2 separate regions of the Homo sapiens genome follow, and region 2 is linked to region 1. Evidence: promoter capture Hi-C in human tissues and cell types (Jung and others, 2019). All regions are on one chromosome and are shown on one strand. The core of a region is centred on a gene start or on the middle of the fragment in contact, and the rest is flanking DNA. Distances in the headings are between cores, read along the strand shown. Region 1 holds the start of GZF1 (GDNF inducible zinc finger protein 1). Region 2 has its middle 170 kb from the start of LINC01747.

Region 1 (2,792 bases), core at 99-2,598:
TCAACTCAGACTACTCAACACACTCTTCCCCTCAGCCTTGCCAAAGGCAAAGGGCTATCTTTAGCCCCTAAATCTTTCCACTGCAGCGGGCATGCAAATTTCACCAACCCCACCTAAGGCCTCCAGATACCGTCACCCCATCGTCATTTCTGCTGCTTTGCCACAAACTCCCTGAATGTGTTTTCTCCCTGCCCTTCAGCTCCTGAATCTACCTTCCTCTTTGATTCCTGTTTCCATCCATCCAAAGCACATGCCTTCCTTCTAGCCTCCTTCGGCCAGACCACAGATGTCACCTCGGATTCAACGTGTCTAGAAAAAAAGTTGTCATCATCTTCCCTGATAAACTAGTCCCACCCCTCTCCCCTTCTCCAGTCTCATCAATGAGACCGCTCCCCACAACTAGCAGTCCCTCAAACATGGAAAAGACTGCCCTCTGGGAGTTCCGCTGTAAACAGGTACCTATGAGGCTTGATCAATGTCGCCTGAAGGAGACGCCCCAGTAAAACTGTGAGAACACTGACAAAGCCTAAGGAAGGGATCTATAAGAGTGGGGCTCTTATAGAGCCACTGGGGTTTCAGTGGTCCCAGCCCCAGCCTGGGGAAACAAGACTGCAGAGGGCTCTCTCAGCCTGATGCCCTGACTTCCCCAGACCTCTGCCAACAGGGCCCTCGAGGAGACCTGATTTCTCAATCAACAAAGTGGGTTCTGAGCGCGATTTCCTATGTTGCTTGGCTACTGGAGTGCAGGCACTGGAGGTGGCGACAGGGCAGTCTGCGGCCGGTGACAGCTGCGTATCCGCCGAATCTCATTGGCATTCCGGCCGCCTCCCAGTGCGCCCGGCATCTGCACCAACGTCGGCGGCCCCTGAATCCCCGAGGCTCACGGGGCCAGAGCCCTTCCAGGAGACGCTGCTACCCGCAGCCCAGTCCACGGCCACAAGGGCCGGGGTTTCCAGTGGGGCTTAAATCCGCCGCTGTCCTCGCCGCCCTCACGGCACCTCCCACCCTTCCCGCGCCACTTGGCCGCCCCAGCGCCCGGACGCCGCTCGGCCACTCCAAAGACGACCCAGAGAACAAACTACTGCAGCCACAGAGAAGCCCCTCCTCGGCCCGACGCGCCGCCTCCCGACGCGGGCATCCGGGGCCGCGTGGATCAGGCCCTCGGGCCGCCCCCTGCCCCCGCTCCCGCATCCCCGAGACGCGCAGGTCCACAGAGCAGCCGGGGCGCGCGGACAAAGAGGCGGCGGCGGGCGGCGAGGGGCCGGAGCCAGGCCTACGGGCCGCGCACTCACCTCCCAGCCGGCGCCCCCGCTGCAGCCGCTGTCCGCTGGACCAGGCCGGTAGGAACGGCCGGCCCGGCTGGGCGTGGCGTAGCACCCTGCGCGGGCACCGCCGATTGGTCGCTGCAGGCCCCTCCCCTCCCGCGGCCGGCCCCGCCCCTGGCGGGGCTGAGGAAGGGGCTGAGCCACACGTCGGGCGGCGGAGCGGTTCGGGCAGTTACCTGATCTGGCCGCGCGACTGACTGGCGACGCCGGATTGCGTCACCCGCCGCATTGCGTCACCCGCCGCGAGCCAAGGCCTGCGCCTGCGCAGGAGACAGCGACGTCTGCGCTGCGGCACGCCACAGGGGGGCGGGGCCAGTCGCGAAAAGTCACGTGAGCGTCAGATTCGCGTGGTCACTTTCGCGTCCATTCCGGGCTTCTGGCCGCAAGGCGCCAGCGCTTCCGGGCCCCAGCAGCCTGCGGTCAGGGCCTGCAGCTGGCTTCCCACTAAGAGCTGCTCACGTCCCCGAGGCCGAGCGCACCCTTAGGGCACGGTGGCCACGCGAGGGACCTCGCGGAAAGCCGGGCTTGGAGCTGGTACTCACCTTGGCTACTAGGGGCGCAGATGCCTCCACGGGCGCTGGAGAACTGGCGCCAGGCGGGGCTCGGCGCGGCGCTCTCCTCTGGGGCGCTTCTTCCGCGGTGCCCCCGCCCTGCTGGGGGGCTCGGCGCGCCAGGAGCCGGGACCGCACCCTGCCGTCTTTACTGCAGGGCTTTATTTCCAGGAGTTCCCATTCGGGCGAAAGCTTTGTTCACTACAGAACTTCCCCAGAGACCCATCCACTCTTCGGGGAAAGCACAATTGATTCCCTAAGATTCGCTGACTCCTCGAAATCTTGCTGTTTCCACCAATTCTTGCTCAATACTAACTAAAGCCCGCTTTGAAACACCTTCCTTGAGTCAGACTTCCAGTTCTCAATAAACTGACCTTGCCTTTTGCTCCCAGCCATTGGTAAAGCTTTGCCAGGTCATGCTGTCCCTTACTGTGGCCAGCAGTTAACTCAGCCTTGTCTTACCGACACGTTGAGTTTGTAATGTTTGGGGACTGTCAGGACAAATACAAATTTAAAATAAGGTTTACTACTTCCTGTTGAAAATATGAGATTTCCCTCCCTTTTTCTTCGAACATTTACTTTTAGAAAATTGGTAATTAGTGTAAGTACTTTTTCCTCTCTTTGAAATATATAAATCCTTTTGAAGACTAGTTAGGCCTTTTTGTGCGCTTTATAACCTAGATATGTCTTTTTCTAGGACCTAGGAGCCATCTCTTTAAGTATCAAGGGAGTTAATGCCCCTGTCTCCCAGTTTTAATGGGGGAGTAGGAGCCTAACTTCAGTGGGCCCTTTGCTCCAACTTACAAAATTATCTCATATCATAAAGATACAAGTTTCTTTTTCCTCTAGATAAAGCCAATTGGCTAACACAGAGGATCATCCCAAATATCAGGTTAGATGAACTGTGTGTGATGAA
Region 2 (2,760 bases), core at 18-2,517, 510 kb after region 1:
AGTGGTTTGTAGTTCTCCTTGAAGAGGTCCTTCACATCCCTTGTAAGTTGGATTCCTAGATATTTTATTCACTTTGTCGCAATCGTGAATGGGAGGTCACTCATCATTTGGTTCTCTGTTGGTCTGTTATTGGTGTATAAGAATGCTTGTGATTTTTGCACATTGATTTTGTATCCTGAAACTTTGCTGAAGTTGCTTTATCAGCATAAGGAGACTTTTGGCTGAGATGATGGGGTTTTCTAAATATACAATCATGTCATCTGCAAATAGAGACAATTTGACTTTCTCTTTTCCTAATTGAATACGCTTTATTTCTTTCTCTTGCCTGATTGCCCTGACCAGAACTTCCAACACTATGTTGAATAGGAGTGGTGAGAGAGGGCATCCCTGTCTTGTGCCAAGTTTCAAAGGGAATGCTTGCAGTTTTTGCCCATTCAGTATGATATTGGCTGTGGGTTTATCATAAATAGCTCTTATTATTTTGAGATACGTTCCATCAATATCTAGTTTATTGAGAGTTTTTAGCATGAAGGCTGTTGAATTTTGTTGAAGGCTTTTTCTGCATCTATTGAGATAATCATGTGGTTTTTGTCTTTGGTTCTGTTTATGTGATGGATTACGTTTATTAATTTGCATATGTCGAACCAGCCTTGCATCCCAGGGATGAAACAAACTTGATTGTGGTGGATAAGCTTTTTGATGTGCTGCTGGATTTGGTTTGCCAGTATTTTATTGAGGATTTCCACATCGATGTTCACAGGGATATGGGTCTAAAATTCCCTTTTTCTGTTGTGTCTCTGCCAGGCTTTCGTATCAGGACAATGCTGGCCTCATAAAATGAGTTAGGGAGGATTCCCTCTTTTTCTATTGATGGAATATTTTCAGGAGGAATGGTAACAGCTCCTCTTTTTACCTCTGGTAGAATTCTGCTGTGAATCCATCTGGTCCTGTAGTTTTTTTGGTTAGTAGGCTATTAATTATTGCCTCAATTTCAGAGCCTGTTATTGGTCTATTCAGGGATTCAACTTCTTCCTGGTTTAGTATTGGGAGAGTGTATATGTCCGGGAATTTATCCATTTCTTCTAGATTTTGTAGTTTATTTGTGTAGGGGTGTTTACAGTATTTTCTGATGGTAGTTTGTATTTCTGTGGGATCGGTGGTGATATCCCTTTATCATTTTTTATTGCATCTATTTGATTCTTCTCTCTTCTTTATTAGTCTTGCTAGCAGTCTATCAATTTTGTTGATCTTTTCAAAAAAGTAAGTCCTGGATTCATTGATTTTTTGAAGGGTTTTTTTGTGTCTCTATCTCCTTCAGTTCTTCTCTGATCTTAGTTATTTCTTGCCTTCTGCTAGCTTTTGAATTTGTTTGCTCTTGCTTCTCTAGTTCATTTAATTATGATGTTAGGGTGTTGATTTTAGATCTTTCTTGCTTTCCCTTGTGGGCATTTAGTGCTACAAATTTCCCTCTACACACTGCTTTAAATGTGTCCCAGAGATTCTGGTATGTTGTGTATTTGTTCTTATTTGTTTCAAAGAATATCTTTATTTCTGCCTTCATTTCGTATGTACCCAGTAGTCATTCAGGAGCAGGTTATTCATTTTCCATGTAGTTGTGTGGTTTTGAGTGAGTTTCTTAATCCTCAGTTCTACTTTGATTGCACTGTGATCTGAAAGACAATTTGTTGTGATTTCTGTTCTTTTACATTTGCTGAGGAGTGCTTTACTTCCAATCATGTGGTCAGTTTTAGAATAAGTGTGAGGTGGTGCTGATAAGAATGTGTATTCTGTTGGTTTGTGGTGGAGAATTCTGTAGATGTCTATTAGGTCCACTTGGTGCAGAGCTGAGTTCAAGTCCTGGATATCCTTGTTAACCTTCTGTCTCATTGATCTCTCTAATATTGACAGTGGGGTGTTAAAGTCTCCCATTATTATTGTATGGGAGTCTAAGTCTCTTTCTAGGTCTCTAAGGATTTGCTTTATGAATCTGGGTGCTTGTGTATTGGGTGCATATATATTTAGGATAGTTAGCTCTTCTTGTTGAATTGATCCCTTTACCATTATGTAATGGCCTTCTTTGTCTCTTTTGATCTTTGTTGGTTTAAAGTCTGTTTTATCAGAGACTAGGATTGCAACCCCTGCTTTTTTTTGCTTTCCATTTGCTTGGTAGATCTTCCTCCATCCCTTTATTTTGAGCTTAAGTGTGTCTCTGCACATGAGATGGGTCTCCTGAATACAGCACACTGAGCGGTCTTGGCTCTTTAACCAATTTGCCAGTCTGTGTCTTTTAATTGGGGCATTTATCCCATTTACATTTAACGTTAATATTGTTATGTGTGAATTTGATCCTGTCATCATGATGTTAGCTGGTTATTTTGCCCGTTAGTTGATGCGGTTTCTTCCTAGCCTTGATGGTCTTTACAATTTGGCGTGTTTTTGCAGTGTCTGGTACCGGTTGTTCCTTTCCACGTTTAGTGCTTCCTTCAGGAGCTCTTGTAAGGCAGGCCTGGTGGTGACAAAATCTCTTAGCATTTGTTTGTCTGTAAAGGATTTTATTTCCCCTTCACTCGTGAAGCTTAGTTTGGCTGGATATGAAATTCTGGGTTGAAAATTCTTTTCTTTGAGAATGTTGAATATTGGTCCCCGCTCTCTTCTGGCTGGTAGAGTTTCTGCCAAGAGATCTGCTGTTAGTCTGATGGGCTTCCCTTTGTGGGTAACCCAACCTTTCTCTCTGGCTGCCCTTAACATTTTTTCCTTCAT

The links. The method cuts DNA at HindIII sites, captures the fragments that hold promoters and counts their contacts. A contact is called where the count stands out against the background at its distance.
Region 2: a contact is called between a fragment that was not itself captured here and the fragment with the promoter of GZF1 in region 1, in 1 of the 25 tissues and cell types used here (heart right ventricle).

What each region holds. Positions count from the first base shown.
Region 1 is chr20:23,360,738-23,363,529 of GRCh38, reverse strand. GZF1 (GDNF inducible zinc finger protein 1) reads right to left here and starts at 1,348. Exons shown (of 6, transcript NM_022482.5): 1 at 1,293-1,348. RefSeq lists silencers at 1,063-1,552, 1,973-2,062 and an enhancer at 1,623-1,882. The HindIII fragment of the contact is 9,373 bases long and covers 1-2,792 here.
Region 2 is chr20:22,853,109-22,855,868 of GRCh38, reverse strand. No RefSeq gene overlaps it. Among named protein-coding and RNA genes, the nearest start is that of LINC01747, 170 kb to the right of the region's middle. The HindIII fragment of the contact is 5,856 bases long and covers 1-2,760 here.